Regions from separate parts of the Homo sapiens genome. Here regions 1 and 2 are each linked to region 3. Evidence: promoter capture Hi-C in 16 types of primary human blood cells and fetal thymus (Javierre and others, 2016). All regions are on one chromosome and are shown on one strand. The core of a region is centred on a gene start or on the middle of the fragment in contact, and the rest is flanking DNA. Distances in the headings are between cores, read along the strand shown.

Region 1 (3,294 bases), core at 453-2,952, 2.7 Mb before region 3:
GGCCAAGATCAACTTGGAGGTCTGTGAGCCCTCCTTGGACCCATTGTGGAGCAAGAGTGCTTCCTCATGGATTTTTTTTCCCCCCGAGACGGAGTTATGCTCTTGTTCCCCAGGCTGGGGTGCAATGGCACGATCTTGGCTCACCGCAACCTCTGCCTCCCAGGTTCAACCAATTCTCCTGCCTCAGCTTCCGAGTAGCTGTTTGAGACGGAGTCTTGCTCTGTGGCCCAGGCTGCAGTGCAGTGGCACCGTCTTGGCTCACTACAACCTCCGCCTCCCAGGTTCAAGCGATTCTCCTGCCTCAGCCTCCCGAGTAGCTGAGACTACAGGCGTGTGCCACCACACCCCGCTAATTTTTGTACTTTAGTAGAGATGGGGTTTTGCCATGTTGACCAGACCGGCCTCGAGCTCCTGATCTCAGGTGATCAGCCTGCCTCGGCCTCCCAAAGTGCTGGGATTAGGCCAGGCGCAGTGGCTCATGCCTGTAATCCCAGTACTTTGGGAGGCCGAGGCGGGCAGATCACCTGAGGTCAGGAGTTCGAGACCAGCCTGACCAACATGGCGAAACCCCGTCTCTACTAAAAATACAAAAAAATTAGCTGGGCGTGGTGGTGGGTGCCTGTAATTCCAAATACTCGGGAGACAGAGGCAGAAGAATCACTTGAACCCAGGAGGCGGAGGTTGCAGTGAGCCGAGATCGCGCCATTGCACTCCAGCCTGGGCGACAGAGCGAGGCTCTGTTTAAAAAAAAAAAAAAAAAAAAAAAAAAAAGAGGGCTGGGATTACGGGTATGAGCTACAGTGCCCGGCCACAGGACTAACTTTGAATCAAACTCTGCCATAAATCCCATGTCAGACTTTCTCCAGTTTGGGCTAAACAACTTCCCTAGAATTTATGGATCTTATTTTTTGCAGCTGATTGCACATTGAGTAAGTATATGGACTGGCAATCGGTTACATTCTTAACTCAGCTTGTTCTTCTTTAGAAACTTAAATTTATTGGGCTCCCACTGTGTGCTAGACCCACATAAAGGTTCTCACGCTAACACTGCAAACCTAGGAGTGTCTGCATTTTGGAAATAAGGAAACTGAGGTTTAGTGGTCCAATTCTTATCTAAGGCCCCAGCCAGCAGGTAGTGTAGCTGAGTGGGATCCCATCTAAGACCCATCTGACTCCAAAAGCCACGACCTTTCCACCATGACTCGGTTGGATTCTTTGGTCCGTTTCCACCTCAGTCTTCAACGTGCAGAGCCTACACCCCTGCCGGTCGGTTTAGGGACGAAAAGTCCCCAAGGACTTAGGTTTCCTCGCGTTCAAGTGACAATCTGGGGTTACTCCGCGCACCTGGGGAACCCAGAAGTTCCAGATGACCGAGGAAGGGCGGTAGAAAAGGCCTGCGCTGGCTACTCCCGTCTGCTAAAGGCCAGGCGGATCCCCCAACGACAGCTCCACGCCGAGTGGCCGCGGGCGAGCAGGGGGAAAAGGGCCCTGATGCGGAAGGAGCCCCGGGGCGCCACAGCCAGGCCGCTCCGCCAGCGGGCGGGTGGCGCATGCGCGGCGTGGGCCGCGGAGTTGTGAATGGTGCGTCTTGTTTGCCGGAGTTGGAGGCGGGCGGGCGCGCGAGGAGGAGGGGTGGGGCCGGCGGGGGCGGGGTGGGCGGTGAGAGGAAGTGGCGGCGGCGGCGGCGGCGGCGGCCGGGGGCGGTGAGCGCTGGGGCTGCGCGGGCGGCAGGCAACGGCTGAGGCGGCGGCGGCGGCGGCGGCGGCGTGGGTTGGGCTCGAGCGGGCGGCGGCGCCTCAGACTCCCCGGAACGGGAGCCCACGCGGGCGGGCGCCTGAAACAAAGGGAAGCGGGCGTCCGGGCGCCGCGGGTGGGCGGTCAGTCGGTCAGCGCGGAGCCAGCCAGCGGGTGCCCGCGCAAGCCCCGAGCGCGGCCGGCCGGCGCGGCCTCAGGGCGGGAAGATGCCGCGCGTCGTGCCCGACCAGAGAAGCAAGTTCGAGAACGAGGAGTTTTTTAGGAAGCTGAGCCGCGAGTGTGAGGTGAGGCAGGCGGGCGGGCGGCTAGGAGGCCGCAGCGCGCCCCGAGTGGGCCCGGGCGGAGAAAAGTTTGGGCGGCACGGTCCCCGGGAGTCCCGGTCGGTGCGCCCGCGGAGGGGCAATCTCGCCGGGGCGGCCATCGCCCGCAGCCTCTGCTTGCCCTTATCGGCGCTGCGCTGGGAGGGCGGGCGCGCGGGCGGCGCCGCGGATTTGGCTCCTGATTTCGGGCCGTCTTGCCTTGCAGATTAAGTACACGGGCTTCAGGGACCGGCCCCACGAGGAACGCCAGGCACGCTTCCAGAACGCCTGCCGCGACGGCCGCTCGGAAATCGTAAGTCGGCTGGCCCGGGGCGCGCGCGGGTCACTTGTTGCGCGGGGCCGCGGCGGCCCAGGCCGGTTCCGGACGGCGGCGCGGCTGCTGCGGCTCCCGGAACTGAGTGGGCGCCGTCTCACTTCCTACTCGGGATTCAAAATGCGAAACCAGATGCCGCGGGCCGGTACTCGCGGGGAGACGCTTTTCCTGGGGCTCGCCGCGGTGGCGCGTGTCGGCCAACGGAGCACCGCGAGTGGAGCTCGAACCCGAGCCAGACTAAACAAGCGAAGGGCATTGTTTAGGCGGCGACACCGAAGAAGGGTTCAGGGTATTTGTAGCAAGCAAACCCCCATTCGGAAAAAGAAGTGGAGCTTCATTCAAGGTCGGCGATAGTTTGTTTCTTAGAAGGTAGATCTGTCGGTAATTCTCTGTGTCAAGCGGTCTCACTACCAGATCGCCGAGTAGAAATCTTTCCTCCAGTTATTTATTCTAATAGAGAGGGGAGGGGGGGGAAAAGGCCCTAAAAATGTCATTTTCTTAGAATGTTAAGCTTCAGGAGAATCAGAAAGAAACCATTATCCCCATGTCCTGAGTAGGGCTGCTGTTCCTAAAAACTGCACAGATGGGCAAAACCCACGGTTGATCTCGAGGTCCTTGTTTTAGGAGGCAGATTTAGTGCGTCTTCACCAGACCTTGGGTTGAAAAAAAAAATCCAAGGGTCCTAGTTCCTCTCATCTTTTTGGTTTGCCTTGTTGGAGGTGCTGATGAGGAGGGAGTGGTAGGAAGAAACCAAGAAAAGAGGTTGATTATTACTATTTTTTTGAGGTAGAGTCTTGCTCTGTTGCCCAGGCTGGAGTACAGTGGCTCGATCTCGGGTCACTGCAACCTTCGCCTCCTGGGTTCAAGCGATTTTCCTGCCTCAGCCTCCTGAGTAGCTAGGATTAC
Region 2 (3,244 bases), core at 359-2,858, 2.8 Mb before region 3:
CATAGAGCACGCCAGCTCCTGCTGCACAGAAACCTTTCTGACTCTCTGGAACAACTCGCTCCCCTCGGAAGTGACTCACCTGAACCCGCACCTGCTCTACTACGTTCAACTCCTCTAGCGTCAGTGGATGCTCCGGGTCATTGATGGAGCGAATCAGATGTGGGAAGTGAAGGAAAAGGGACTCTGCGCCCTTGCCCACTTAGAACCCTCTGCCAGGAACGCCCTGCTGGGATGCGGCTCCACCAGCTGCTCGATATCACTGCTCCCCCCACCGCAAGCCCCCGGAACCCGCCCGCGCCCAGCAGCGGCGGATATCGAAGATCTCGCGTGCGTCGATGCTGTCGGGAACCTGCTCGTCCTCCTCGCCTGCCGTCACAGGCCGCTCCCCAGAGCGCTGGTAGATGAGGGGGTTGGCATTCTCCAGGAGGCCGCCGCCGACCCCGCCGCCGCCTACCATCGCGGAACCACCACCGCTGATCCTAGCAGGCGTGCGCTTCCGCTCCAACCCGCGCACTTCCGGAGAACGGGAAGGGGGCGTGGCGTGGCGACGGAGTCGCGCGAGGGACACGCCGCGTTGTGGGTTCTCGGCCTGAGGTGCGAGAGAAGCGGTGACCGCGGCCCTGGCTGCTCGGACCCGGGAACATGATGGTCGCTGGAGCAGAAGGCGCTGAGAAGGGACCACGGCGGCGCTGGGTCGTGCGAGCCAGTAGCGGGCTGAAACGTAGAGGCCAGAACCAGGTCTCAGGGGGCACTAAAGGCGGTCGGAGGTAATCCCCACACCGCTTCCTCCTGGAAGTCAGGCTGGCCGGGAGCTCCCGTATCCAGGACGGTTGGTCGCCTCTGGCCTGGCAGGGATCCTAGTGTCTCGGGACCTCCCGGTGACGCGCCTGCCTCCCCTGCTGCACCATAGGCCCGGGAGTACGGCGTCCCCACAGCTTGGACCGGCAGGGGCTCGTGAAATGTTTGTCAAGTGGATAAATGACCATGGCCGTGGTCTCCGCGGGAGGTGAGGAAACTGAAAGCCACCGAGGAAAAGGGGGGCGCTCCTTAAGAAGTGCCGCGGTCACGTGTACGTTTCAAAAGAATGGCGTGACTGAGTAGGGAGGGGACCGCGGAGACCCTCAGACCCTGGACTGTAAGGAGATGAGGGGCCGTGAAGGGGAACCCAGGAAACTGAGTCCTGAAAGCAAGGAGGAACTTCCAGAATGAAGGGCGCCGACACTCCTTCCTGCCTTTGCTCAAGCGGTTCCTTCACCCCGATCAAGTTCCTTCCCATTTCTCCATCTGGGGGATCCTGAACGTGCACATCCTCAGAGAAGCCCTCCTGGGGTCTCCAATTCTAGTTTATTGCCCCCTCCTATCGATCCCCCAGCGCGCTCATCGGGCCTGTGGACAAGGACAGGTTTGAAGAGAGGATTCCCTGGATCGCGGAAGGGCTGCAGGAATGGCACAGCCCCTTCCGAGGATGCCAAAGGAGCCCGGGCAAAGGAAAGTGGCCGTGCCCGGGCCTGCCTACCACTAGATCCCCACCCACCTATGACTGCTCAGTCCCGCTCTCCTACCACACCCACCTTTCCCGGCCCAAGCCAGCGCACCCCGCTGACTCCCTGCCCAGTCCAAACTCCAAGGCTGGGCAAGGCACTGATCCACTGCTGGACAGACCCGGGGCAGCCTCTGGGTGAACAGCAGCGTGTCCGCCGGCAGCGAACCGAGACCAGCGAGCCGACCATGCGGCTGCACAGACTTCGTGCGCGGCTGAGCGCGGTGGCCTGTGGGCTTCTGCTGCTTCTTGTCCGGGGCCAGGGTGAGGCTCCCTCGGAGGGGCGACAGGGACCGGGCTCAGATCTGCCAAATGCTGCGGAGGCAGAACCTGACAGTGCGGGAGGGCAGGCGCCTGGGAGGTAGGAGCTGGTGGAGATGACAGCGTGGAACTCGTGAGCCCCACGCAACGCCTCCCCGCCGCCCAAGGTGGGCTCCTAGAAGCACAGAAAGGGTCGGGCTGGGGGACACCACGGCAAGGAACCAGCGGAGTACAGGGGCCCCAGGAGCGCCGGGACATGCCAGGCCGGGTAGGCAGCCTGGGGTCGGAGTGGGTGAGGGATTGGGGTGTGGGGATTCAGTCCATTTCCCTCTTATGATTGTGGCTGTAGCGGGTGCTGCCGGCCGGTAATAACAGTAATAGCTTCTGGCAGCATCTGGCTCTCAGTGTGTGGCGTCCTTGGCCAGGGGGGATGCCCTGAGCCCTCCAAAGGGGCCTCAGACAAGGATAGTGGTCCTTGGGGAACAGAAGCCCCCAGGCGCCAAATCCTAAAGCAGATCTAAGAGGCCACAGTGGCTGGGTGCGATTGGCTCACTCCTTTAATCCCACCACTTTAGAAGGCCAAGGGAGAGTATCGCTTGTGCCCAGGAGTTGGAGGCCAGCCTGGACAACATAGTGAGACTCGGAGTGTACAAAAAATTGAAAGAAATTAGTGGGCTGTGGTGGTCTGTGACCTGTAGTCCCAGCTACTTGGGAGGCTGAGGTGGGAGATCACTTTAGTAGGGGAGGTTGAGGCTGCAGTGAGCCTTCATCCCACTACTGCACTCCAGCCTGGGTGAAAAAGCAAAAATCTGTCTCCAGAAACAAGAACCAAAGAGCTCGTGGTGTCCCTCATGCCATTTACCTCATCCTGGGCAAGGGCACAACTTGGCTTCCAGGGCAAAGGTGAAGGCTCTGTGTGCCTGCCAGGCTTCTCCAGGCCCTTATCAGAAGCTGGGGGAGTGTTTCGGCCTTTGGTCCTCTCACCCGAAACTCTCCTAAGTGTATGATCTGTCTCTTCCAACCCTTCCCCAATTTAATTTGCGCAGGTGGAGTCCATACTCCCCCCGCCCCATGGTGCACTGCTGCAGGGCTTCCTCCCGTGCCTGCCCTTGACCACATTCTAGAGTTCACCAGGAGCCCAGCAGGAAGATCTGCCTGGCCTCACAGATGGCTACCTTTTAAAATATTTTGGGCCAGGCACAGTGGCTCACACCTGTTATCCCAGCACTTTGAGAGGCAGAGATGGGAGGATCACTTGAGGCTAGGAGTTAGAGACCAGCTTGGGCAACAAGACTTGTCTCTACCAAAAAAAAAAAAAAAAAAAGTCAAGCATGGTGGCAGACAGCTGTACTCCAAGCTACTCAGGAGGCTGTGGCGGGAGGATCTCAAGCCCAGGAGGTGGAGGCTGCAGTGAGCTGTTATCATATTACTGCATTCCAGCCT
Region 3 (3,782 bases), core at 39-2,538:
AGAGGTTGCAGTGAGCCAAGATTGAGCCACTGCACTCCTGCCTGGGCTACAAGAGTGAAACTCTGTCTCAAGCAAGCAAATAAATAAATAAATAAATAAATAAATAAAGTTATTGGGCAGGCACAGTGGCATTCGCCTGTAGTCTCAGCTACTTGGGAGGCTGAAGCAAGAGGACTGCTTGAAGCTGGGAGTTCGAGCCCAGCCAAAGCAACCTATCCAGACCCATCTCTTAAAAAAAATATTTCTCTGCCAGGTGCGGTGGTTCATGCCTGTAATCCCAGCACTTTGGGAGGCCAAGGTGGGCGGATCATTTGAAGTCAGGTGTTCGAGACCAGACTGGTCAACATGGAGGAACCCTGTCTCTACTAAAAATGCAAAAATTAGCCAGGCGTGGTGGTGCACGCCTGTAATCCCAGCTACTCGGGAGGCTGAGGCAGGAGAATTGCATGAACCGGCGAGACGGAGGTTGCAGTCAGCTGAGACTGCACCACTGCACTCCAGCCTGGGCGACAGAGCGAGGCTCCATCTCAAAAAAAAAAAAAAAAATATCATCTATCTATCCACCTACCTACCTACCTACCTACCTGGATTATAATTCATTAAGTTCTCTGTGCCCTGTAGTTGTAGATTAAGGGAATGCGATTGGATTAGTGTGGAGGGGCTTTTTATGGAGCCAAGCAGGAGTTTTTAAGCTTTTGTACTTTTGCTTCATGTCACAAGGACAGATGCCCCACAAAGGCTGAGATGTTTGTGGTCCTGGATCTTAGAACAGTGCCTGGCACATAATAGGCATAAGGTTGCCAGGAAATAGAAATACAGATACTCAATTCAATTTGATCTTCAGATAATCAAAAAATACTTTTTTTAGTATAAATATGTCCCATTCTGTATTTGGGACATACATATTACACTGTTGTTTATCTGAAATTCAAATTTAAGTGGGTGTCCTGTACTTTATCTGGCAACCCTACTAAAGGAGCTCAATTAAGTATTTGCTGACTTAACAGTCTGAAGGTCTCGTTTCACCTGTAAAATGGGGCTAGTACCTGTCCCTGCCTCTATAAGGTTGATGGGCAGAGTAGGTGGCATTCAGTGAGCCCTCAATTTATTTGATTGCCTGGGACCATCCGGTGAGCAGAAACCCTTCCACTTTCAACTACAGAGACGATAAAAAGGCCTCCTCGAGGCCAGAGGTGCCCAGGCCAGGCCTAGGTGGCCCGCACCTGCGAGCCTGGCCAGCCTCTTCCGGGTCAGGTGACCGCGCGCGGTCACGTGACCCGGCCCGAGTGCGGGCGGTGGAAGGCGGAAGTAGGAGAGGAGTTCGGCGCCGCTTCTGTGGCCACGGCAGGTAGCGAGCGCTGGCGCGGGGGGCGCGGTGGGCTGGCTGCCTGCACGGGGCGGGCCGGGGGCGGCGGGCGGCGCGGGGTGGGCCGGGGGCGGCGCGGCCCGGGCGTCGGGGGGCGGCGGCTTCCTGTGGGAGGGGCCTGGCGCGGCGGTTCCGGCCTCCGAGGAGGGGTGTCCCGGCTCCCGCCCGAGTGGGGTGGGCGCGCCGCGGCCCGCGCGGGGGTTGCTCCGAAATGGGTGCCCCGGCCGCCAAGGGTGCAGCTGGAGCGAGTCCTCCCGGAAGGGGAGAGGAGCTTAGGTTCCCAGGCATGGAGAGGAGCGATCTTTGTGGAGGGATCGGGACCAGGGGAAGGGGCGACTTGGAACTGAGCTGGAAGGGGGTGCCTGAAAATGGGTTTATGGCGTGGAGCCAGAGGGAAAAAGATGCTGCCTGGACCCCCTCTGAGAGTCTCTCCCTTCCTTCCTGTTTGGAAATGATTGTTACCCGAGACTTTGATGACGGTCCCATTCAGTTTTTAAACTTCAGGAGGGATCACAGAATCTTGATCGTCTTGCTTCCCTCGCGCCCACTTAGTCCTGCGTGGGTAGGGTTTCCACTTCTTGGGAGCCTAGCCCTTCAGCTCATTTTTCTTTGAGATTTTCCCTGAACGGGCCATCATCGAGGCTTTAAAAAACAAAAAAAGAAAATAAATTAAAAAAATAAGTGTGGGCACTTTGCCTGTAAAATGGCTTTTAGCTTACACTGTTGACCTAGCCCAGCGTTACCTCAGCAACATAGTGACTGCTGAAATCTTGGACAGAGAAGTGTCTACCTAGACTGCTTTATGACTTTTCTCTTTCTTCCGTTTAAATTATTCAGTTTCCCTTAGCTTATCTTGTGACTGCTTATCTTGACGAACTGTAACTAGGTAGGGTGCCTGAGAGGTCTGTGTTATGTTCCTTAGAACTGTGACCTGGATCATGATTTTGAGATTGAATACTTGTGTTAAAGCCTGTTCATCTTCCTGTTTCTCATGTTTACTAAAATTTGCAGAAGCAAAAGGAGTTTCATGAGTGCAGTGTAACTGGAACGAATGTTCAAACTGGACATTCACAGCAGCCAGCATCGTTTTGGGTTACAAGTAGGAAAAAGTACTTTCCTAATGTATTATGAGTTCAAGTTTTTGGAGTTATTTGACAAACATTTAAAAATTAGTTTTTGCAGCAGCGCCTATGAGTGAGGTTGGGAAGATGTATTCTCATTTCACAGGGAACAAACAGACTTACGAGAGACGACTTGATTTTTTAAAACAATTTATTGCTCTTTCTTGTTTGCTGGCCTCTTCCTGCTAGATTGCAAATCCTTCAAGGGCAGGTTTCATATTTTATTTGGCTGCTAGCCTAGTGCCTGGCATGTTGTGAGCACTTGATAAATATTTGGTGAATAAATGCATTTCTAAAAGTCACACCGGCGTAAGTGGTGACAAAGGATTTGAACCCAAGTCTTCTACTCTTTTTCTTGTCAGAGAAGCTTGTGATTATCTGTGTCATTGGTCCATATGAAAACAGGCTCGAGAGAAAGGCTTGGATTGGCTTCTCAGTCTCTTTCACTTCATGATTACTTTCCCATTTACAAAGAGCGTATACCAACATCTCACTTAACCTTCCCTTTGAAATTGGGATGGTCAGTATTGTCCCTATATCACATGAAGAGACTGAGGCTTAATGAAGTCCTTACTTTAGATTTCAGAGCTAGTAAATGAGTAGGGACTCAAGCCCAGACCCTTAATCCTTAGATCCATTCTTTTTCATTTATTGACACAATAGAAAATTTTATTTTTATTTTATTTTGAGACAGGATCTTACTCTGTTGCCCAGGCTGGAGTGCAGTGGCACAATCACGGCTCACTGTAACCTTGACCTGCCTGGGCTCGGGTGATCCTCCCATGTCTGCCTCCCAAACAGCTGGGACTACAGGTGGGTGCCACCTCGCCTGGCTAATTTTTGTAGAGACAGGGGTTTTGCTATGTTGCCCGGGCTGTTTTCAAACTCCGGGGCTCAAGCGATCCTCCCACCTCGGCCTCTCAAAGTGTTGCAATTACAGGTGTAAGTCACCATGCCCAACTGAAAGTTTTATTTTTACATAATTTTTCAGGAATAAAAAGTGTAACATTTTAAGGAAAAAGATCACACAGAAAAAGTTGTGAATGTAGAATGTGAGTAAATGAAGTTTAGAAAACGCTGTACTCTACCATAGCTTCCTCTTCCTGGGAAAACATTCTTTCATTCAGTGAATATTTATAAGTACCCACTCTGTCTTTGCCAGGCATTGTTGTAGAGTCCAGTATGGTGTACACTAGCCACATGGGGCTGCTGAGCACTGGAGCTATGCTGTGAGCATAAAATACATTCTGGATTTTGAAGACTTAGCATGAAGAAAAGTAAAATGTCTCATTGAT

What was found. The method cuts DNA at HindIII sites, captures the fragments that hold promoters and counts their contacts. A CHiCAGO score of 5 or more calls a contact.
Region 1: a contact is called between the fragment with the promoter of CBFB here and the fragment with the promoter of WWP2 in region 3, in 2 of 17 cell types (fetal thymus and non-activated CD4 T cells). The highest score is 6.3, in fetal thymus.
Region 2: the fragment with the promoter of CES2 here is called in contact with the fragment with the promoter of WWP2 in region 3 in 4 of 17 cell types (non-activated CD4 T cells, naive CD8 T cells, total CD8 T cells and 1 more); the score reaches 8.4 in non-activated CD4 T cells.

The regions. Positions count from the first base shown.
Region 1 is chr16:67,027,447-67,030,740 of GRCh38, forward strand. CBFB (core-binding factor subunit beta) reads left to right here and starts at 1,703. Exons shown (of 6, transcript NM_022845.3): 1 at 1,703-2,039; 2 at 2,281-2,367. The coding sequence starts at 1,962. RefSeq lists an enhancer at 966-1,105 and silencers at 1,666-1,855, 1,946-2,185, 2,436-2,485. The HindIII fragment of the contact is 7,418 bases long and covers 1-2,897 here.
Region 2 is chr16:66,933,908-66,937,151 of GRCh38, forward strand. It overlaps CES2 (carboxylesterase 2), which reads left to right and starts at 1,609. Exons shown (of 12, transcript NM_001365405.1): 1 at 1,609-1,804. The coding sequence starts at 1,729. CIAO2B (cytosolic iron-sulfur assembly component 2B) reads right to left here and starts at 495. Exons shown (of 5, transcript NM_016062.4): 1 at 316-495; 2 at 80-159. The coding sequence starts at 457. RefSeq lists enhancers at 101-150, 181-380, 1,219-1,831. The HindIII fragment of the contact is 4,886 bases long and covers 1-3,244 here.
Region 3 is chr16:69,761,044-69,764,825 of GRCh38, forward strand. It overlaps WWP2 (WW domain containing E3 ubiquitin protein ligase 2), which reads left to right and starts at 1,289. Exons shown (of 24, transcript NM_001270454.2): 1 at 1,289-1,348. RefSeq lists an enhancer at 1,094-1,672 and silencers at 1,376-1,515, 1,536-1,695, 1,716-1,765. The HindIII fragment of the contact is 2,162 bases long and covers 691-2,852 here.